Regions from separate parts of the Homo sapiens genome. Here all the other regions are linked to region 1. The links are contacts of gene promoters, found by promoter capture Hi-C in blood cells and fetal thymus (Javierre and others, 2016). All regions are on one chromosome and are shown on one strand. Each heading gives the region's core, a stretch centred on a gene start or on the middle of the fragment in contact. The rest is flanking DNA. Distances are from core to core; before and after follow the strand shown. Region 1 holds the start of PCSK5 (proprotein convertase subtilisin/kexin type 5). Region 2 overlaps PCSK5 (proprotein convertase subtilisin/kexin type 5). Region 3 overlaps PCSK5 (proprotein convertase subtilisin/kexin type 5). Region 4 has its middle 290 kb from the start of PCSK5. Region 5 overlaps PCSK5 (proprotein convertase subtilisin/kexin type 5). Region 6 overlaps PCSK5 (proprotein convertase subtilisin/kexin type 5). Region 7 overlaps PCSK5 (proprotein convertase subtilisin/kexin type 5).

Region 1 (3,297 bases), core at 9-2,508:
GTTTTCAAGATTAAATAATATAGCATACCTTATACAATATGTAAAATGTCAAATGCTATGCTCAAAGGTACTAGTGGAATTTTAAGTCTGCAGGTATCTTTCAGATTTTAAAAAATCAGTACCAAAAGCTATAGGTGGGATGAGTTAATTAATCTCAAACACATTTAAATTAACAGGAAGAAAGAAATAGGGCATGGTAGGAGGAGAGAAAGGAGGACAGTTAGGGATATAGTGAATACTTTTAAAGTCAGTTGAATTATTTCATACGGGATAATTTTTCTTGTCACAGTAAATCACCCTGTGCCCCACCCCCGCTCCAGGAAGGCAGGGAGGTTGTAAAGGAGAAGCGAGAAGAGGGTTAATTTGAGCTCCCTCCTGCCTGCTGCAGTCACAGTGCATGATAGAGTAATGAAGGTGACGCCGCCACATATCTCATCTGAACTTCCTCTGTGGTCTTTTTCATATTAAAGTCTTTCACTGTTACAGGACTGTGCTTGGAAAAGTTGGGAAACTTTTCCCTTGGTGGAGAAAAAGAAGCCCTCGTCAGACGCAATCCAACAAATGAATGGAGTTATTTCCTTGGCCCAACATGTCCATCCACTAGCACACCAAATATTCATAGAAACATCTTTCCTCACTTCCAAGGCCGGAATTGTACTCTCCCGTGGCGTTGCCTAGTATCGCAGATTTCGAAAGTGAGCAGGCAACAGACTTGGCTTTCGAGCCAATTCTAGGAGTCGATGCGACTTACTGTCCTGTGTGGTAGCTTCTCCCGGGAGCAGAAAGTGTAAAATAAACAGCTGCTGAAAAGCATGAAGAATTAACGAAGTGAAAATCTCGAGTTATTTGTTCGGCAATTGACACGTAAGTGACCTCCTTAAATGCCTAGTTATTTAAGGACGTTTAGAACGAGGATGAATGAATCTTCAGGGCGGTTAATTCGCACCGGCGTGTAAATTTCTTTAGTCTTTCGGGAAGTGGCGGTAAATTCATACAAATCCAGCAGGGAGGGAAGAGAAGGGAGTAAAACCACGATCTCGGAGCGCTCTTCTCAGTCCTTTGGAAAGACTTGCCTTTACTGCCCGGAACCCTGGAGGTTACAGCTGGGCGAACCCGGAGGCGCTAGGACCTCGTCAGCGCCTGGCTGCGGCCGCTTTCAAGAGGGCGGAGGAGGGAGAGGAGGAGGGCGATGTGGGAAAGGAGGGGTGTTAAGGGGGGCGGGGGAAGTCATTTATGCAGAGCAGGAGCTGCTGCCATTGCCACTCAGAATCCTCGCGCGCTGCTCGGAGCCGGAGGGAGCGCTGGGAGCGAGCAAGCGAGCGTTTGGAGCCCGGGCCAGCAGAGGGGGCGCCCGGTCGCTGCCTGTACCGCTCCCGCTGGTCATCTCCGCCGCGCTCGGGGGCCCCGGGAGGAGCGAGACCGAGTCGGAGAGTCCGGGAGCCAAGCCGGGCGAAACCCAACTGCGGAGGACGCCCGCCCCACTCAGCCTCCTCCTGCGTCCGAGCCGGGGAGCATCGCCGAGCGCCCCACGGGCCGGAGAGCTGGGAGCACAGGTCCCGGCAGCCCCAGGGATGGTCTAGGAGCCGGCGTAAGGCTCGCTGCTCTGCTCCCTGCCGGGGCTAGCCGCCTCCTGCCGATCGCCCGGGGCTGCGAGCTGCGGCGGCCCGGGGCTGCTCGCCGGGCGGCGCAGGCCGGAGAAGTTAGTTGTGCGCGCCCTTAGTGCGCGGAACCAGCCAGCGAGCGAGGGAGCAGCGAGGCGCCGGGACCATGGGCTGGGGGAGCCGCTGCTGCTGCCCGGGACGTTTGGACCTGCTGTGCGTGCTGGCGCTGCTCGGGGGCTGCCTGCTCCCCGTGTGTCGGACGCGCGTCTACACCAACCACTGGGCAGTCAAAATCGCCGGGGGCTTCCCGGAGGCCAACCGTATCGCCAGCAAGTACGGATTCATCAACATAGGACAGGTAACGAACTACAGGCTAGCCCAGCCCTCGGCCCTGAAGCCACTGGGGGCTTCTTGTCCCCTCTGCGTGGAACCCCCTCCCCCTCTTCCAGATGTGCTCTAGCAGCTGTTGCCCTAACTCTTGGGCGATGCTCTGTCTCCTGCGCGCGCGCGCGTACGCACACACACACACACACACACACACACACACACCCCAGAGTTGCCGGGTCCGTGTTTTGTTTACTTGTCTTTTCCAAGCCACGCGGGACTGGTAGGGTCTCGGGAAAAATCCAGAGTGCCCCCGTGGTGGCTTCAGAGACGGCTGGACCTTTTGACCTGAAAAGTCGAGTAGCACTAGTAATCTGAGGCAGTCTCAGAGAGGGTGATCGTGGGGAGAGGGGGAAATTAGGTCTTTTGGGGGATAGGGGGTGAGCGCGCCTCTGATGCCTGCGGGGAAGGGAAAGCCTTTCCTGCTCGGACCTGAATTTAGCCCAGAAAGAAGTTTCCTCTTGGGCGAGAGAACCTCTGGCGCTGGAGACTCCGGAGGCGCGGGGACTGGAGCTGGAAGGGAGGAGAAAGGAGGGGGAGGGAAGAGGGGGCCGGCCCCGGTGTGAGTGCAGATTTAGGGGAGACCTCTAGGCTTTCTCGCCTTAAGCGAGGTCCGCGTGGGGGCTCCCGGAAGGGAGTTGTAGTGGGGAGGTGGGAAACTTCCGAAACCGGCTGGCTGGGTTCCGCTCCGGGAAAACGAGGAGTCTTACCCCGGGACGGAAGGTGCCGGGCCGGGAGGTTGCGCCGTGGGGCGAGAGTTGGGCAGGCAGCAGGGGCGCGGGGTTTTTGTGGGGTGCCGCTCTCGGGCTTTTGGCAGAGCTCTCCTGCTAGGGAGAAATGCCCATAAACTAAGGTGATGCTATGAGGATGATTGGAAGCGTAACAGATTTGGAAGTACTCCGGGTTCAGTGGTCTTGGCTTTCTGGTTCTCTTCCCCCGACACCCCTGCGAGAAATGGGGGTAGAGAGGGCTATGAAAGTGGGTCCCAGAAAGTACCCCCCTCCACATACACACCGCAAGCATCTTTGGGGTTGGCCGGAGGGGCGGGCCCTGGCTGGGCTCAGGCGAGAATCCGCTGGAATGGGAGGTGAGGATGATGGATGGCGCCTTTCCAGCAGGCGCGCTTTGGGGACTGCCCGGGGTGCACGCACCCTGCGTGCTCTGCCAGGGGGAAGGGAGAGGGAGGTGCTGGCTGGTGCCGGCGGAGTGGGAGAGTACGGACAGTTTCTGAGGCCATTGCGTTCCACGCCCAGGAACCCGGGGACACCCCCCGCCCCTCCTCCCCGCCGCCTGGGGGATGCGGCACCTGGAG
Region 2 (3,224 bases), core at 395-2,894, 280 kb after region 1:
CAATTAAATGGTAGACTCATCCCCTAATATAGAACTTCCTGGCTCCAAACTGAATTTATATTTATTTATTGTCTCTTGTCATTTATTTATTATTACAATACATATTAAGAGCATTTGAGGGTGTTGTTTTGATTTTTGGCACATTGAACCTATATACGCAGATTGCATTTATGTGTTAGCAAGGAAGATGGATTTTTCTCCTTCTGTATTTACACAGCTATTTCATAATAACAGGTTTCAATATTAATTGCAAAATCATCTATAAAATTTAGCAAACAGAAAAAGGGGTAGAGGAGAAAAAAAAATGATGGCCCAAATATGGCAGTTATTTGAAGTGAATCATAGTAGAGGTTCTAAGGAAATAAAATTACATAATAAGTGAAATATAAAGAGATGAATTACACAGGAAGGATATCCCTAGTGGGCTTATGATGTCCTTCAGAAATGGCACAAAGGGAAATAATCAATTTTGAGACAGCACTCTTCAAAGCACTTAGAGGGTAAACTTTTGCATCCAAAATGATCTTAAATAAAATGAACTAAATTTTAAGGTGACTAATGATTAGGATGACCTATAGTGTCCTTGTATTATATGCTTCATTTGTACACTTGAGAGATGCCATAAGGAAAATGCGTTCTCTTTTGCACTGCTACCTAAAGGCAATCAGATAGGTCATCAATTTCCAGCAGTCATTCACTTCTTATCACTCCCTAATGCGTGTTACTTAGAATTCTGGGCCTGAATAATACCCTGATTGTGAAAAGCCTGGTCATTAACAAATGAGTCCAAAGAAAAGCTGGCAGAGGGCAAACCATACATAAACCGATTGTACTGGTCCAATGTAAAAGTCAGAAAAAAATGCATGCATCACAGAATGTGTTCATTTTTAAATGTCAGGCTCCTAAACTCCTAGAAATGAATAGGAGATAATTTTGTATATGGTTTAAAAACACAGGATTTGGAATTGGAGTATGTTTTAATACCAATCTGTCCTCTTATTGCCTTTGAGGAAGTTACCAACCTCTGTAGCTCTGTTTCCTCCTCTATATATTGGGACTGTTAGTACCCACCTTAGAGTTGTTTTGAACAGTGAATGAAATAAAACTTACAAATCACTTAGACTGGTGCTTAGCATATAGAAAGCACTTAAAAACATCAAACATCGATTTGTTGGTGATGGTAGGTGCTCATAGATGAAGGAAGCTGACAAGCTGAAATCCGTCACTTTCTGAGCTAGCCCCTGACCTTGTCTGGATTCTATGCATTCAGCCAAGGTGAGAGGGGTTCTGAGGGGCATTCTACCTTCCTACCAGCATATGCCTATGTTTGTAATGGTTTTGTCTTAATCACTTCTGCTTACGGTTGATTCCTTTTGAGATCAGTTTTACTAACTTTAATGAAATGGAGGCACGTTTCCTTTTTTTTTTTTTTTTTTTTTTTTTTTTTTTTTTTTACTTTTTGCATTGAACACAATTTTGTGAAGCTAAGAAATAAGTTAACAAATAAGAACTAAACTAAAGCAAAATGTTCCTTGTAAGTGATCCAGACTCATAGAAGGTGAAACACTTGCCTCAGGTCTCAAGGCGTTCCTGCCCAGAAAATGCTGTTTTGGGCCAAGTGTGGTGGCTCACGTCTGTAATCCCAGCACTTAGGGAGGCTAAGGCGGGTGGATCACCTGAGGTCAGGAGTTCAAGACCAGCCTGACCAACATGGTGAAACCCTGTCTCTACTAAAAAATACAAAAATTAGCTGAGTGTGGTGGGGGCCACCTGTAATCCCAGCTACTTGGGAGGATAAGGCAGGAGAATTGCTTGAACCAGGGAGTCAGGGGTTGCAGTGAGCCTAGATCATGCCATTGCACTCCAGCCTGGGTGACAGAACGAAATCAAAAAAAAAGAAAGAAAATGCTGTTTTGCACATAGACCCATAGAACATTCTGCAATGATGGAAATGCTGTCCAGTAGGATGGCCACTAGCCACATATGGCTCTTGAGCACTGGAAATATGGTTAGTGTGATGGAGAAGCTGAATCTCAAAATTTTTGTTAATTTTAGTTCATTTAAGTTTAAATAATCAAATGTTTAATGGCTATCACATTGGACAGCACAGGTCTATAGGACAGTATAATTAGTGATGTTTTCTTAATATTGAATGACCGATACCAGGAATTAGGGAGAACAAAGAGTTGTTCTGTCTACTTATTAACAAGTCAGATAATGCCAAAAAAAAATTTTTTTTTTTTTTTGAGATGGAGTGTTGCCCTGTTGCCCAGGCTGGAGTGCAGTGGCGTGATCTCCGCTCTCTGCAACCTCCGCCTCCCAGGTTCAAGGGATTCTTCTGCCTCAGCCCCCCAAGTAGCTGGGACTACAGGCACGTGCCACTGCGCCCAGCTAATTTTTTTTTTGTATTTTTAGTAGAGACGGAGTTTCACCGTGTTAGCCAGGGTGGTCTCAATCTCCTGACCTCGTGATCCACCAGTCTCAGCCTCCCAAGGTGCTGGGATTACAGGCATGAGCCACCGCACCGGGCCATATAAGACTTTTTATACCTAGAAAAACAAAGCCTTCTATTAAGTCCTGGGATTCTCTTAAATATTTCTAATTTGAAATTCAGCCCTTGATCCAGCAATCTGAAGTGTGTTTGTTTCTCAGTCTTCCTATAAATGCTGATTAAATCAAGGCCTCTCTGGTAGTACATGCTCAGTCAATATGTGGTATGTGAATTATTAAATAATTCTGCAGATGACGAGAAATACGCATTTCTAGCTCTGCGTTTGATGTAGTGATTGATATCCATCTGCCTCCCACAGTTCTGTTGCTTTTTCTTGAGTGAGAAGGACTTAAAGATGTTACAGAGCTAAAGAGGGAAAATTTGGTCATGCTGTGATTTCATTATTATTTCTCAAGGTAAATTGAAAGAATGGTCTTTGGTCCTCTACGGCACCTCCGTGCAGCCATATTCACCAACCAATGAATTTCCGAAAGTGGAACGGTTCCGCTATAGCCGAGTTGAAGACCCCACAGACGACTATGGCACAGAGGATTATGCAGGTGAGCTGGCTTCCAGTGGGACACAGGCTAAAAAGAGGCAGCTCATGCATCATCCCACCACATGGGAGAACAGAATGGAATGGAATGGAATGAAATGGAATGGAATGAAATGGAATGGAATGGAATGGAATGGAATGGAATGGAATCGAATCGAATCGAATCGAATAGAATAG
Region 3 (3,259 bases), core at 220-2,719, 420 kb after region 1:
CTATTTTATGTATATATTTTTACTTTTATGAAAAATATGTTCAGGGGCTGGGCGTGGTGGCTCACACCTGTAATCCCAGCACTTCGGGAGGCTAAGGCAGAAGGATCGCTAGGAATTTGAGACCAGCCTAGGCAACATAGCAAGACTCCGTCTACAAAATATTTAAAAATTAGCCAGTGGGTGCTGTAGTCCCAGCTACTTGGGAGGCTAAGGTGGGAGGATTCCTTGAGCCCAGGAGATTGCAGTGAGCTGTGATTGCACCACTGTACTCCAGCCTGGATGACAAAGCAGGACCCTGTCTTTAAAAAAAAAAAAAAAATTATTTTCCCACCTTATATTAATGATCAACTGATGTCATGTTTTTTTTCCTCCATTACAAAAGTAAGGCTGTGATGTGCACCTCTTCTAAAGGTTTAAATAGGTGAGGCATGAATTATAGATAATAAATAACACCTGGTTAGTTATTTATTGATTCCTCCTGGTTTCCTTGGTCCCCTGGTTTGTAGTTGCTTTACTCTTCCTACCAATAGTCCCACCTCCAGAATTTACCTAGGAAGAAAGTGAGGAATAGCAAATGCAAGAGTACAGCAAGAAACTTTCAGCAATAAGCAACAGAAATGCCAAGTAAAATGACTGAGACATAACAGGGTTTATTATCTCACAGAACAAAAATGCTGCAAGTCCAGTATTGGTCACTTCAGCGGCCAACAAGGTCATCACAAAGTCTGGTTTTTCTGTTTCGCTCTTGTACCTTCCTTAGCTCATCCTCTCTGACTGGCACCGCTGCTGAGCCCACATTACGTGTCTCAGCTCCAGACACGGTCACCCCATGCAGCCACTACCAGGGCCAGGAAAGGGGATGTTTCCCCTTGTTTATCCTTTTCTTGAAGAAAAGAAAATTTCCTCAGATTTTTATTCTAATCTCAGTCGCAAGAATGCATCACTGATACCTCCCTAAATCAATCCCTGGCAAAAAGAATGGAAATATAGGAGTGGTTTAGGCTGAACAAGATTCACGCCTGAACATCCAAGCAACTCAGGACTCTGACAGCCAGGAAGAATGGAGAGAGGGAGGCAGGAAATAAATGTGCGGAAGTAACTGACAGTGTCTACTTTAAGGAGTTAGAATTTTCATTTGCCCTCTTATTAAAAGAATTTGATACAACAACGCCTATTTCCTGGCTGGGCGTGGTGGCTCACGCCTGTAATCACAGCATTTTGGGAGGCCAACCGGGAGGATCACCTGAGGTCAGGAGTTCAAAACCAGCCTGACCAACATGGAGAAACCCCATCTCTACTAAAAATACAAAATTAGCCAGGCATGGTGTCATATGCCTGTAATCCCAGCTACTCGGGAGGCTGAAGCAGGAGACTCGTTTGAACTCGGGAGGTGGAGGTTGTGGTGAGCTAAGATCACACCGTTATATTCCAGCCTGGGCAACAAGAGCGAAACTCCATCTCAAAAAAAAAAAAAAGCAAAAAAGCAAAACTGGCACCTATTTCCTAGTGACCTATTTGTTTTCATTACTGAGATAGACTCTATAGAGTATAAATATAAGTTATGAGTATAAATATAGAGTATAAATATAAGGTATTTACCCTCAAAAAGCATCCAATCTAGTGTAGAAAGCCAAGCATATTCAGCTCAACAACACAGATTTAGCACCAACTAGGGGTAAAAATTGATACTGATGCAATATCAATATATTGTATTGTATATGCGTAGCTCAGTGGAGTCTATTCTTCTACCAACAATTGATATTGATATTGATATTGATGTTGATATTGACACTGATATGGAAAGCTAAGTTAAGACCAACTCCAGGAAGTCCAAGTCTGCAAAAATGCTTACAATCCACTAAGGGAGGTTTACATCAGTCAATGTCATACTTCTCAGGGCCTTAATATACAAAGGGCTAAGAGATTCCAAGAGAAAAGAAAACATTTTAAATCACTATTTTTTGAATGCTTGCAACGTCCAGGTATTGTGCTAAGGGCTGTAAATGTATGATCCCATTAATCCTCACAAGAATTCTCTTATCCACTTACTATTATTTTCCCTCATTTGACCAATGAGGAAAAGAATAGCAGGCTCAATTTTACACATCAAATACATGGTGTGGCCAGAATTTGAACCCAAACCTCTCTGGCATTGAAGTCCATGTGCTTAACTATCACTCAGTGCTGCCTTCTTGTACAATTGAGTATTTTTTAAATCACAACTTTATTGAGATATAATTCACATACCATACAAATCACCCCTAAAAGTGTATAATTCACGGTTTTTAGTATATTCACAGAGTTATGCAACCATTACCACAATCAATTTCAGAACATTGTCATCAACCTAGAAAGAAACCCTATACCCTTTTAGCTGTTATTCCTACTTTTTCCATTTCCCCCAGCCCTAAGCAACCACTAATCTACTTTCTATCCCTGTAGATTTGCTATTCTTGGACATTTCCTATAAATGGGATTATATAAAATGTGGTCTTTGAGCCAAGCATGGTGGCCATGGTGCACACCTCTAGTCCCAGCTATCAGGAGCCCAAGGCTGGAGAATTGCTTGAGCCCAGGAGTTCAAGGTCAGCCTGAGCAACATAGCAAGACCCTGTCTCTGAAAACAAAAACAAAACACATAAAACAAAAAAGACAAAACATGTTTTTTTCTGACAGACTTTTTGACTTAGCATAATGTTTTCCAGCTTCATCCCCAGCTGGGTATTTGAGAAAAGGCTTGATGGTCCCTAGCTCTTGAAGGATTTTGTCAAGCAGAGAGTGGAGAAAGGGTAGCAAAGGGTCAGAGTAAGAGAACCCAGGTGAGAAGTCAGGTTTGGAAACTCCCAGTCCTCCTCCCCTATCAACCGAGCTCCACCCCAGCAAACTCAGCCAAGTGTTACAATAAAGCAAAGGTGAAAGAGATTTGCTTACCAGAGTCAGTCATTGCTTCCTCAGTGGTAGGATTGAACTGGTTGTCATTATTATTGCCTTATTTATTTAATCATTACCTTTTTCAACTCTCTCTTGGATTCTTTGAGTGTTCCAGGAATTGACAACACATTAAAACAAGGAAGAAAGAGATGCATTTTGCTTTACTCAAGTTAGTTGACCGCTTAATGTATTTTACCTCAGAGTCTGGGTTGAACCATTTTCATGGAGCAATGGGACACTACGCAGACATGCAGCAGTCAAGATAGTCTGTATTTCTTGAGCAGTAGGAAAGCTACCAGCATGGCCTAGGAATATTGCAGACTATAGA
Region 4 (3,274 bases), core at 326-2,825, 290 kb before region 1:
AAACATCAGAGCAGTAGCTCTATCAACAAAAAGGCTTTTGGAAGATTTGCAGGTGTTACACAACCTCCTTCATCAGGGGAGAAGTACAGCCTAGCTTTTTGGAGTAAAGACGGAGTCCTTTAACAATTCTTGCTTAGCAACACACAGTCTATTTGTGGTGGTCATGGGGGTGCACCAAGCAATCTCCCATCTAGAAAGACCCTGCTGAGAGGAGCATTGTCAGCTGACAGCTTCTGCGGCCACATCTCCGTATCCACCATGCATTCATGCCAAGACTGTTGTCTTTCCCAGAAGCTCTCAGCCAGTGACTGAGCATGCTGGGATCCTAGGGACAGGCAGTTCTTGCCCAACATATGACTCCTATAGTGGACAATCCCTACTCAAGGATTCCTCTTCAGGCTGACCAAGACTTTTACAGGGCAGCATTGCAGTCTGGGGCTCAGCCTTCTTCCTTCTCTCTCTCCTTCTACAAGTATTAGAGCTACATCACCATCTGAAGTTTCTTTCTTTCTATGTCTGCTCTCTTGTCCTTGTTTCATGCATGTCTTGAGATATTGCCAAATGTCCACTGGGAGGCACAAATCTCTATTCTATGAGAACCACTGGTATAAGGTAAGAAAGCTTCCCTAGGAAGAGCTAGGTGCTTGCTCCTCGGGCTCCTGTGGCACTTGGTTTCACTAAAGCACTTTTTATGTTTAATTGTCATTGTTCATCTATTGGGCTCTCCCGCCAGCTTATGAGCTTTTCCATAGGAACTGTGACTTTCATATTCATTGCATTTCTCCAGTCCCATTTTGGACCTGTTTTCAGAAGACATTCGTTTAAATGACGAATCAAGGAAGAAAGGGGAGAAGGCAGGGAGAGAGGAATGGGGAAGGAAGGATAAAAACAAGCAGTTAGGCAGCAAAAGAAGGCGGGAGAGAGTGAATCTATGAAGCATTTTTCCTTGGCTAGCCAAAGTGGCCTGGGTTATGTTTCTATATTTGAGCCTGGTCATTCTTAGCTTATTGCTTCCCCTTTAGGAGTTTACTGCATGACTCTATCTATAGCGTTTGTTTGTTGAAGAATCGTTCGTTTGTTATGCTCCAAGTGTTGAAATCCTCTTTGGTTTTTGGATCTTCTCATACCCTCCTCTGCCCACTTTAAGGCCATTTCCAGGCAACCACTGGCAGATCCTTGTCCCTCCCCAGTAACTGACAGCACTTAACCATCAATAACGTGATCTCAGACACCAAGGCACTGCTCCAAAGGATGAGCACTTCTTGTTTTGTATCAACAACAAAAAAATATTCTGAATAATACATGGTCCCAAACGGAAAGGTAGATAGGAATGCAATCAATTAACTTGGATGATGTCATAATCCACATGCATGGCAGAAGAGCTAGAATTCCAGACCTTGCTGTGCTCAGCTCTTCTGAGGATAATTAGCAGTGTTCCAGGGAACTTCGGACAGCCCATTGTGTTTTATATCTCTAACAATATGATAGGCCTGAGAGATTTGGAAAAGGATTCATTAGCTTACTAAAATTATTTAAAACCCAGACAGGCCGGGCGTAATGGCTCATGCCTGTAATCCCAGCACTTTGGAAGGCTGAGGCAGGCAGATCATCTGAGGTTGGGAGTTCCAGACCAGCCTGGCTAATATGGTGAAACCCTTTCTCAACTAAAAATACAAAAATTAGCCAGGCCGTGGTGGTGCACACACGTAATCCAGCTACTCAGGAGGCTGAGGCAGGAGAATCACTTGAACCCAGAAGGTGAAGGTTGCAGTGAGCTGAGACAGCACCACTGCACTCCAGCCTGGGTGACAGAGCAAGACACTGTCTCAAAATAAATAAATAAATAAAAGAAAAATAAAAAAAAACTCAGACTAACAGGAATGAGAATGATGCTTGTAGGGACAGAAAGAAAAAAAAAATACTATTAACTGTTTTTGGCTCATCTTGCTCTCCAAACCTGCATTCTTCTGAATTTCAAGAATGAGTACATGTAGCCAGAGGCAAAGGAACTCTGTCCAGGCATGGACTAGGTAACACAACCAGCCCCAGAAGTTCTCCTATCCCCCACGCTAAGTCCTTCTTCCTAATCTTCTTCTAAATCTGTTCCGTTGATAGAAGTTCCCCAACCTTAAAAAGAATTTTTTTTAACTTCTAGAGTTCTTAGTTTTCCATATATTTCATAGTCTGCATAACAGCTAAAAATATCCTTTGTCATCTATCTTTGACATCAAGTAACACTGCCACTGTCACCCAATGTGGAGTTTTATGGAATTCTAAATTTGTAAGAGATGAATACATTATTAAATTCAGTAATTCCCAAATTTTAGTGAATAAAACATCCATTGAGGGAGCTTGTTAAAAATTCAGATTCTGATAAGGCCCAGGAATTTGCCAAGTTTTGGCTGCCTTATAACTTAAATACAGCAAAATTCACTCCCTTGAGGTGTACAGCTTTGCAAATTTTGATAATTGTATGCAGCCATGAAATCTCCATCACAATCAAGATATGAAACAGTTGCATCACCCTACAAAGCTTTTCATGCCCCTTTACAATCCATCTCCTTTCCCTCCCCCGCTTATAACCCCCAGGCAATCACCTGTTTGATTTCCAGCCCCGTAATTTTGCTGTTTGGGGAATTTCATATAAATGTAATCTTGCAGTATACATACAGCCTTTTGTGTTTAACTTTTCTCCCTTAGTATGATGTTTTTGAGGTTCATCTGGAAAATTTGCAATTAAAATAGAAATTTTTGATGATTCTGCTCAGAGAGTTTCATAGCCGTATTTTGAAAAGCACTCTTCTGATCCAAACTTTTTATTTCATAGATAAGAAAGCTGAGGTGTAAAGAATGTAAGTTACTTACCTGAAGTGAAATATTACTGAGAAATATTTGAAACATGTGTCCCTGGAGAGAATTCCATGAATCATTTAATTTTCCTTTACGTCTCTGCGATGAGAGATTGAATCCTTCAGCAATCATATCCTTAAAACCAATGATATGAGATCTAGTGTGTGAATATATTTTGGATTTTCTTCTGGATTACAAAATATTATTGCCAGGGCTTTGCTTAAGTTCAGAAAAATTTACTGAGAGACAGAGTGTGATTTAGTAAGAAAACAGCTCTACAACCTTCTTGAAAATAGTACATTTGCTTTTGTACATGGTGAAATGTAATGAACAACACTCCTCAACTTGTACTTTCTAACTTCACTGATAGAAAAGATTTCTTTCTCACCTGCCTATCCCCATGCTTTGCAGTTGGAAACGGGTT
Region 5 (3,141 bases), core at 429-2,928, 360 kb after region 1:
GATACACAGGGTTGTATTTCCCAAATCTCGGTGACTTCAAACAACACAGGTTTATTTCTCTCTCATGCTACATCTTCATCATGGGTGAGCTGAGAACTCTGCTCTGTGTGATCCTTAATTCAGGACCAGGTTGATAGAGCAGCCACTACCTTGCCATGGCAGACACAAAGCAGACACTGGCTCTTAGAGGTTTCTCCAGGATGTGGCACTTGTACCTCCTGCTTACGTATTTTTGGCTAAAGCAAGTTACATGATTACGCCTGGGATCAGAGAGTGGGGAGGTGCAATCTTACCATGTGCCTGCAGAAAAGAGAGAAAATAATGATTGTGTGTAATGGTGACAGTCTCACAGGGGAATGACTATGGGTCATGGGACTGTTGCTGGCATATTCTGAGCTTTCACATTGTGTGTTTGTACATGAAATAGTCCCAGATGTGTGCCCGATATGCTTCAATAAATTATTTCTCTTCTGCTCCTCTGAACTTGTCCATTGTCTTACCTTGGAAATGTCTAACTTTTTTCTTCTCTCAAAGCAACTCTTTTGAAGAAGTCACTATTTAAAAAAAAAAAAAAGATGAAATTTCCCCAAGTATTCTGTTATCTCACTTCTTTTATCTCTGGCAACTGATGAGTCAAGAAGAGGACCAGTGGTCAATGCCTTATAGTCAATAGGTAGGCTGTCAGCTAAAAGGAACTTGACCCTTCTTTAGTGTCATTTTTCAAATGCCTACTGTGACAATAGCAAGTGCTGCTGTCTCTTGCCTTTGTTTGCTGCCTAAAAAATGTATTCGCCCATATAAGACACGTCTTGGGAATCTGAACAGCATCTCTCAGTTTTTGAGTTAGATTCAAGAAATATTTCCTGAGCATCTACATCAGGCTAGACATGGGGATATAAAGATGAATAAAGCTTGTTCTTTGCTCCTAAGCTGCTCACATGCAAATGCGATAGGCCAGAAGTTCTCAGCTCTGGGTACATATTAGGATCCTGCGGAGCTGTAAAATGCAGGTGCTGATACCTACTCCCAATGTTTCTAATTTAATTAGTCTGGAGTGAGGTGTGGGCATCAGTATTTTTTTAAAACGCCCTGGCCAGGCATGGTGGCTCATGCCTGTAATCCCAACACCTTGGGAGACTGAGGTGGGTGGATCACTTGAGGCCAGGAGTTTGAGATCAGCCTGGGCAACATGGTGAAACCCCATCTCTACTAAAAATACAAAAATTAATTGAGTGTGGTGGTACAGACCTGTAGTCCCAGCTACTAGGGAGGCTGAGGTGGGATGATTGCCTGAGCCCGGGAAATTGAGGTTTCAGTGAGCTGTGATCATGCCACTGCACTCCAGCCTGGGCAACAGAATAAGACTCTCTCTCAAAAAAATAAAAAAAATAATTTTAAAAAACTCCCTGACTAATTCTAATGTGCAACCAGAGTTGAAAGCCACTGATTAAGATAGATATAGAAACAGATAACTTCAACATCTGTTTAAGATACTGTGTTGAGAATGGAAGCTGAAACAGAGGCAGATACATTATATTAGAATGTATTGTTCAGCTAGGTGGACATTTTACAAACATGACCTCTAATCTTCAATGTAATTCTCTCTGCTCAAAATCCTTATGATAGGCTAGGCTCAGTGGCTTACACCTGTAATCCTAGCACTTTGGGCAGTTAAGGTGGCAGGTGAGGGGAATCACTTGAAGTCAGGAGTTCAAAACCAGCCTGGCCAACACATCAAGGCCCCATTTCTACAAATAAATTTTTTTTTTAAGTTAGCCTGGTGCGGTTACACGCACCCATAGTCCCAGCTACTTAGAAGGCTGAGGCAGGAGGATTGGTTGATCCCGGGAGGCTGAGGCTGCAGTGAACTATGATGGCACCATGGCACTCCAGCGTGGGCAATGGAGCAAGATCCTGTCTCAAAAAGAAGAAAAAAATTCCTTATCCTCATTTTATAGATGAAAAAACCAATGCCCAGGGAGCTTATGTCATTTGCCTAAAGTTACACAGCTAGCAAGTGTTAGAGCCAAATTCAGACTTAGGACTGTCTGGCTCCAAACCCACAGACCAACCAAATAGTTGCTCTTTTTCCAAAGTAGACTGCACTCATACACTATTTTCCTAAAGAACATAAATGAAAGTTGTGCAAAGGTTGGTCTGCTGCATTTGTTTCATTCTTGATTACATTCTCTGTTCCTTAGTTGTGTCTCCTGACATTTCCTTTGCTCCTTCTCCAACATTCAAGCTCACATTCTTAGAGTTATGGGGGAGAAGAACATAGTGGCGAGGTATCTTAAGTTCAATTCTAGAGCAATTAGCTCATCATCTTGGCTCTTCATGCTATTACGCTATTTCCCCCGGAGCCGGGTATAATCGAAGTTCCTCCTACTTGTTGTGTAACTGACCTGCTAAGTCGAGCTGTGAGCCAAGTCTGTCTGGATCACGTAAGCTTGCAGAGAGAACTGAGCCAAGTACTTCCAAAACAAACCTCGTTAAACAAAAGCGGAGTGTGGTCGAGCCGGACACACAGGGTGGAGGGTTCAGAAGACCGTCTGCCAGTCTCGAAAGCAATGTGGGGTCTGTGACATTAAACGTCCAAGGGCAGTTGAGCTGGAGGGATGGATTCACCTTTACAGATGAATCTGGAAACCAGTGAGAATGATTCTGCATGATTAGGAATAATAACCTGGAAAATCATTGCCAAATTACTTCCTTTTAGTGAAATATCTTCGATTTTTCTGAAACCCTTAGTCAATCAAGACCCCAGCTCGTGCCTGTTCATCACGCTTAAAGAAAAATAAAAATGAGTCTGGCAGTAGTGACTAGAACTTCAGATGGTTAGGTCTCATTTAGTTTTGCAGGAGTGTGGAAAATTGAGTCAGAAATCTTAGTCTCTATTCATTTCCATCCTTCCCTTAACACAGTGAAAATCTTGGGCAAGCCCTTTACATTTTTTGTTTCTTAATTCTATCCTGTTTTATAAAGGAAAGCATCACATAAATTGCCTTCCTTGTACCTCCTAATAGGTCCCTAGAGATTATGATGAAAACTAGAAAGGTGCTCATATCTTGAGTTCTTCAAGAGAGAGGAACCAAGAGGCTCTATTGTGAATATCAAAACAGAATTTAATTTGCTTTCTCT
Region 6 (3,375 bases), core at 7-2,506, 380 kb after region 1:
AAATATTGTACCTTTCCCATTCTCTCAGTTATCTCTTCGGAACTTTGACATTTTTTAGCCCTTCTCATTTTAACCTCCACGTTTCTTAACCACCCTTTCCTGTTTTTTAGCTTTTATTGCCTCTATGGGTTGAAGCTTCTATCTTTTCTTTATATCTATCTTTGAGTTTACCTAATTCTTTTTCTGCTATGCCTAATCTACTGTTTAATCTATCCACTGAGCTTTAGATTCTAATTTTTATGTCTATCACTTATAGAAGTTATATGTAGTTGTTTTACAAACCACACGGTTATTTTATATTTTAAGATGTTCTTTTTATTTCTTTAAAAATTTTAAATATTTGTTATTTTATATTTTGTACCAGCTACTTTCAAGATCTGTAGTCTCTGTGGGTTTGATTCTGGTGTTATTTCTGCTGACTTTCTCTCATGGTGACTGATTTCCTTATGTGGTCTATGTTTTTAAACTGTGACCATTTTCCTTGAAAATTTACCCATGAAAATACTTTAAGGCCTGGGTTAAGATTATATTTTTTAAGAGAAGATTTGCATTTCCTTCTGTCAATGGTCTTAAGGCATTACTTACCTGGAACTACTTGAAACTGAATTTTCCTTTTGAGATGTTCTAGAACACACAAGTAACATGAATTATGACTATAAACCTATGTGATATCTAGCTTAGGGTTACACATTCTCAAAGGGGTTTTTTTGTTGTTTTATTTTATTGTATCTACCTGTCTTAGTCCATTTGTATTGCTATAAAAGAATACCTGAGGCCAGGAAATGTAGAAAGAATAGAGGTTTATCTGGCTCATGCTTCTGCAGGCTGTACAAGAGCATGGCTCCAGCATCTGCTTCTAGCGAGGGCTCCAGGCTGCTTCCACTCATGGTGGAAGGGGGAGAAAGCAAGGGGAGGGGAGGCACCAGGCTCTTTTGAACAAGCAGCCCTCATAGGAACTCTCACGGGAATTAGTAAAGCAAGAACTCACTCATTCCCAAGAGGACAGCACCACCCCATGCATGAAGGATCCACCCATATGACCCAAACACCTCTCATTAGGTCCTGCCTCTAACATTGGAGATAAAAAAAAAATTTATCCTTTTTTTAAAAATATTGTTTTTATACCTATTTGAATGGGAGGAGATAAAATTTTAACATGAGGTTTGGATGGTCAAATAGCACTACTCAATGCTAAGGATGAGACCAAGATAATTTTTTCCTGTCTCTTCCTCCTGAAAAGTTTATTTTTCATCCATCCTTCACTAAGACTGCAATCCATGTGTTCCTATCCCAGCCCTGCATTTTATCTGACAACCCTAACTATAATAAGAATGCTCTGAATTTGCCCATTAAGCAAGATTTTAAAAAAGCTATTTTTTGTTTGTTTGCTTCTTTGGTTTTTTGGGGGTTTTTTGTTTGTTTGTTTTTCAGATGCAGTCTCTTTCTGTCACCCAGGCTGGAGTCCAGTGGCATGATCTTGGCTTACTGCAACCTCCGCCTCTCGGATTCAAGTGATTCTCCTGCCTCAGCCTCCTAAGTAGCTAGGATTACAGGCATGCACCACCACACCTGGCTAATTTTTGTATTTTTAGTAGAGACAGGGTTTCACCATGTTGGCCAGGCTGGCCTCAAACTCCTGATCTCAAGTGATCCACCTGCCTCGGCCTCCCAAAATGTTGGGATTCCAGGCATTAGCCACTGTGCCTGGCTGATGAAATACTAATTATGTGGGAAGACAGAAGAGAGAGAATCATAACTTGGCTTCTTTCAGCCTGAAAAAATATTTCTGTGGTACACTACATTAGAGGTTTCTCCATTCTATCATTCGCCACACTGTGATTTCTCTCTAATTAGCTTTGTTAATTACTGTCCCTTCGCCAATTTGCAAATTCCTTGAGGTAGGGACTGCCTTTCTCATCTATACTCGTTACAGTATCCAAAGCAGTGGATGGACTGTAGTGTGGGATCAATTAAGTGTTTATTACTTCTAAGTCGACTTCACTGCTGGGTGCTCCTCTTCTCCCATCCATCCAGGTGCTTGGACAAGGCCGCGGAGTAATCCCATTCCCTCACCCCACACATCTTATCATTTAATATTCTCAATTTTATTTCTTTACTTTCTCTCAAATCTGAGTTTTGCTGTTACTGCACCCACAGTCTTAGTTTATCCCTAATCATTTCTCCTCTAGGATATTCCTAAAAATATATAAATAAATAAAAAAATAAAATAAAATAAAAGTTTCTTGAGTGTGTTACATAGAATCTAGTTGAGCAAGATTTAATAGATGTATCTGTTTCTGCAGTTAAATAAGCCATTACCACACAGTAGACACAGTCATCATTTTAAATAAATCAGATCACATAGGTCATTTTTACTGAAGCTTCTCATGCCCTCCCATTACTCTTCGATTAGAATGTAAACCTCCTATCCTGGCCTATAAGATCCTATATGATCTTGTCCTGCCTATGACCCTGGCATCACCTCCTGACTCTCTCCCTTTCTCTCCATCTCTTCCAGCCCCACTGGCCTTCTTGATGTTCCTTGAAGGGGACAAGCTTTCCCTGGCCTCTGTCTGGAACACCTGCCCTCAGAACCTCCCATGCTAGCTCTTTGTTATCATTCGAATCTCTACTCAGATGTCAATTCTTGCAAGACACGGCCTCACTAGCCCATCTAAATTAGGGCCTCTCCTCTCCACCCCAGTCTCATCACTCTCTAACCCTTTATCTGAATTTACGTACTTACTTATGTGTTTTCTTCACCCAATGCATATTTCTGGAGCATCTGCTATATACCAGCAGTTCTTGGCACTGGAGATACAGGAAAACAAAACAGAACAACCTGTCTTCATGAAGCTTGCGTTTTACTGTTTGCTTCATGCATTTATTGAACAAAAATTTATGCTTTGTTTTCATTCTAATAATTATCTAGGCTGGGTGCAGTGGCTCACTCCTATAATCCCAGCATTGTGGGAGGCCAAGGCGGGTGGATCACCTGAGGTCAAGAGTTCGAGACCAACCTGGCCAACATGGTGAAACCCTGTCTCTACAAAAAATACAAAAAAAATTAGTGGGTGTGGTGGCACAAACCTGTAGTCCCAGCTACTAGGGAGTCTAAGGCAGGAGAATCGCCTGAATCTGGGAGCCGGAGGTTGCAGTGAGATCATGCCACTGCACTCCAGCCTGGGCGACAGAGTGAGACTCCATCTCAAAAACAATAATAATAATAATCTAATTTTTTCTTTTTATTATGTCTTCCCCCCAAAGAATGAAGGCTTCAGAATAAATGAATACGTGAATGAATGTACAGCGTTAGTGAGTGATCCCTATAGGAATTGCTGCATATTTTCATCCATCACTTCTACCTGCTAGTCA
Region 7 (3,075 bases), core at 574-3,073, 400 kb after region 1:
TCTTCCTAGTCTAGCTTCCCTTCCAGCACACACTGTTGACCGTCCTAGAAGGAAAATGAAAGAGAAAGGAGCTGCAAAGGAAAGGAAGTCCGTGGGTGATGCATGGGCTGCATAATCCCTCCCTGTCCTCCTAAGAACTCAGGAGTTTTGTGATATACAAACTCTCACGACTATTTCATCTCTCGATCATTTTATTGAGATTGTCAGAGACACAGGAGGATGTTAATCTCCTGAAGAGAAAACTGAAGCTCAGAGAGGGGCAAGGTTTTACTCCAGTTGCACCACAGCTACTGACAGGTCTACATTTGCGACATTTGGCCTTTGGCGGGTCACCTCCTCTTGTCACATTGCCTTTTCCCTCCATCCATAGAATTGGACAAAGCAATGTGGTGACAAGAGAAGGCGACCCACCTGTCCAAAAACAAATACACTTGAAATGTGGTAATAGGTAAGAAAAAGTAAAAGGAGTGTGGAGGATGGGAGAGAAAGGGAAGCCCAACAAGCTGAAACATACTAAAAATGATCAGTTAACCTTATCAGTTCTTAGCCTTACGGTTTTAATCTAACTTTTCCAGAATAGCCTGCCATTCTCTACATTGACTATGTCTCACATCACTGCACTCCTGACCCACTTTGTTTTTTTGGGTTTTTTTTGTTTGTTTGTTTTTAAGACAGTCTCACTCTGTGGCCCAGGCTGGAGTGCAGTGGCACGATGTCAGCTCACTGCAACCTCTGCCTCCCAAGTTCAAGTGATTCTTGTGCCTCAGCCTCCCTAGTAGCTGGGATTATAGGTGCACACCACCACGCCCAGCTAGTTTTTGTATTTTTAGCAGAGACAGGGTTTCGCCATGTTGGCCAGGCTCTGTTAAACTTTGTCAAACATCCTCTGTTAAACGTTGGAGCCAAACCTGGCCGCCTCTTCAGCTCTCCACTACTCGCTAATGAGCATGTTTCATAAAACCCTCTGAAAAACAAATACCCTGGAAGAACATGCTCCAATATCACTAAGGGTACAACATGAGATATTTATTTCAAGAAACAAACATATATAATCTTTGAAAACATTCAGCAACTTTGAATACAGCGAGTGAAATGCCTTACAATAGACATTGTTGCTGGGCGTGTTGGCTCACGCCTGTAATCCCAACACTTTGGGAGGCCAAGGTGGGTGGATCACCTGAGGTCAGGAGTTTGGGACCAGCCTAGCCAACCTGGGGAAACCCCGTCTCTACTAAAAATACAAAAATTAGCCGAGTGTGGTGGCATGCATCTGTAGTTCCAGCTACTCAGGAAGCTGAGGCAAGAGAATCACTTGAACCCAGGAGGTGGAGGTGGCAGTGAGCCAAGATCATGCCATTGCACTCCAGCCTCAGTGACAGGGAGATTTAGTCTCAAAAAAAAAAAAAAAAACAGTTGTTAAGGAAGATATGCAAAGGTTTCCCCTGATATCATGCTGATGCTCTGAAATTCATCAAAGGCAGGGGTCAATTTCACTCCACTCCTCCTTCAGGTAAGCCTGCAATTCAGTGGAGTCTGAATTACAACATTTTACTGTAGAATGAGAATAACAGATAACGTACATAAAAATATTTATAAATAAAAGCTAAGCTACTTCGCTACTATTGTTAATAATCTGGTTACAGACATTTTAGTAAGCTGCCTGGACTCGACACCAAGCTATTTCAGGCCTCAGTGCCAGTTGCTATGTGATAAATCACACAAGCAACCTTTTCACACAGACTTTGGTTAAAATCCCAGTCCCACCGTTAGCTAGCTCTGTGATTTTTGAGCACTTAACCCTGAGCTCCAGTTCCCTTATCTAGAAATTAAAGATACATGATATCTACCATACGAGATTTGTGGAGATTTAGATGAGCTAATACTTGACACATAATCAGTACTCTATAAATAAGTATCAGTACCCCTTCTTTCTCCCCAGCCTTCTCCCAGCTGCCCTGATAAAGAGTCCTTGGAGGTCCAGAAGGAGGTGGTTAGTGACTTGGGTTGAGGGGTGCATAACAGACCAAGCCTGAAATTCAATTATCCACTCCTGTTGAAAATGCTGCACAGGCTGGGCGTGGTGGCTCATGCCTGTAATTCCAACACTTTGGGAGGCAGAGGTGGGCAGATCCCCTGAGGCCAGGAGTTTGAGACCAGCCTGGGCAACATGGCAAAACCCCCTCTCTGGAAAAAAATACAAAAATTAGCCAGGCATGGTGGTGTGCACCTGTAATCCCAGCTACTCGGGAGGCTGAGGCAAGAGAATCACTTGAGCCCGGGAGACAGAAGTTGCAGTGAGCCGAGATCGACCACTGCACTCCAGCCTGGGCGACAAGAGCAAAACTCCATCTCAAACAAAACAAAACAAAACGAAACAAAAAACTCTGCATAGACATACATAAGGAGATTAAATTATGGTGAAGAGAAATACATCAACATAAGTCATGAAAGAAATGATGTCTTCTTCCTCTAGGTTTGATCACCATTGTTATAAAACCTGTCCTGAGAAGACCTACAGTGAGGAAGTGGAATGCAAGGCGTGTGATAGTAACTGTGGCAGCTGTGACCAGAATGGGTGTTACTGGTGTGAAGAGGGCTTCTTTCTCTTAGGTAAGTTAGAAAATGGCACCATCCAAGCTAAGAACCAGGCACTGGAGCTCCACACAGTCGGGGCCACAGGAGCGCACATGTGATTGGTTTCAGAGTCTGTGCGTGTGGGCACCTCTGGCCCAAGGAGAAATTTTAATTTGGTTTAGAAATAAACATTAGCCAAACCACCTCCTTCTGCTTTTATTACTGAAGCATGGTTCCTGTTCCACTAATTAATCTCAAATATCTCCAAGCTGATGGAAACAAGGCTGAATTGGATGGAGATAGAGAGTGGGGACCTGAAGATGAATGTTTTGGCATTGAAGTCACCTGGCATATTGAGAGCTCTGACCCTTGTCTTGAGACTTAATCCATCTTATATATCCCCATGCACTGTAAGAATCTAACAAGATCCCTTGCCTTAGGCTTTGGTCAACTCACTGACTGATGGAAATGGATAGTTAGGAAAGAAATACAGTGTGACTC

The links. Contacts are between HindIII fragments. The CHiCAGO score rates a contact against its expected background, and 5 or more counts as called.
Region 2: a fragment that was not itself captured here is called in contact with the fragment with the promoter of PCSK5 in region 1 in 2 of 17 cell types (non-activated CD4 T cells and total CD4 T cells); the score reaches 5.2 in non-activated CD4 T cells.
Region 3: a fragment that was not itself captured here is called in contact with the fragment with the promoter of PCSK5 in region 1 in 2 of 17 cell types (M0 macrophages and M1 macrophages); the score reaches 5.1 in M0 macrophages.
Region 4: a fragment that was not itself captured here is called in contact with the fragment with the promoter of PCSK5 in region 1 in 1 of 17 cell types (M2 macrophages); the score reaches 5.5 in M2 macrophages.
Region 5: a fragment that was not itself captured here is called in contact with the fragment with the promoter of PCSK5 in region 1 in 2 of 17 cell types (M1 macrophages and M0 macrophages); the score reaches 5.7 in M1 macrophages.
Region 6: a contact is called between a fragment that was not itself captured here and the fragment with the promoter of PCSK5 in region 1, in 2 of 17 cell types (naive CD4 T cells and M1 macrophages). The highest score is 6.9, in naive CD4 T cells.
Region 7: a fragment that was not itself captured here is called in contact with the fragment with the promoter of PCSK5 in region 1 in 5 of 17 cell types (M1 macrophages, naive CD4 T cells, M0 macrophages and 2 more); the score reaches 7.5 in M1 macrophages.

Annotation. Positions count from the first base shown.
Region 1 is chr9:75,889,415-75,892,711 of GRCh38, forward strand. It overlaps PCSK5 (proprotein convertase subtilisin/kexin type 5), which reads left to right and starts at 1,259. Exons shown (of 38, transcript NM_001372043.1): 1 at 1,259-1,959. The coding sequence starts at 1,768. The HindIII fragment of the contact is 12,342 bases long and covers 1-3,297 here.
Region 2 is chr9:76,172,079-76,175,302 of GRCh38, forward strand. PCSK5 (proprotein convertase subtilisin/kexin type 5) reads left to right here. Exons shown (of 38, transcript NM_001372043.1): 14 at 2,908-3,051. Among named protein-coding and RNA genes, the nearest start is that of RFK, 220 kb to the right of the region's middle. The HindIII fragment of the contact is 6,514 bases long and covers 1-3,224 here.
Region 3 is chr9:76,311,049-76,314,307 of GRCh38, forward strand. The region is part of intron 30 of PCSK5 (proprotein convertase subtilisin/kexin type 5); the gene reads left to right. Among named protein-coding and RNA genes, the nearest start is that of RFK, 82 kb to the right of the region's middle. The HindIII fragment of the contact is 3,878 bases long and covers 1-3,259 here.
Region 4 is chr9:75,600,909-75,604,182 of GRCh38, forward strand. No RefSeq gene overlaps it. Among named protein-coding and RNA genes, the nearest start is that of PCSK5, 290 kb to the right of the region's middle. The HindIII fragment of the contact is 1,912 bases long and covers 620-2,531 here.
Region 5 is chr9:76,253,914-76,257,054 of GRCh38, forward strand. The region is part of intron 24 of PCSK5 (proprotein convertase subtilisin/kexin type 5); the gene reads left to right. Among named protein-coding and RNA genes, the nearest start is that of RFK, 140 kb to the right of the region's middle. The HindIII fragment of the contact is 1,538 bases long and covers 910-2,447 here.
Region 6 is chr9:76,274,015-76,277,389 of GRCh38, forward strand. The region is part of intron 24 of PCSK5 (proprotein convertase subtilisin/kexin type 5); the gene reads left to right. Among named protein-coding and RNA genes, the nearest start is that of RFK, 120 kb to the right of the region's middle. The HindIII fragment of the contact is 2,246 bases long and covers 134-2,379 here.
Region 7 is chr9:76,292,802-76,295,876 of GRCh38, forward strand. It overlaps PCSK5 (proprotein convertase subtilisin/kexin type 5), which reads left to right. Exons shown (of 38, transcript NM_001372043.1): 26 at 2,474-2,610. Among named protein-coding and RNA genes, the nearest start is that of RFK, 100 kb to the right of the region's middle. The HindIII fragment of the contact is 5,529 bases long and covers 1-3,075 here.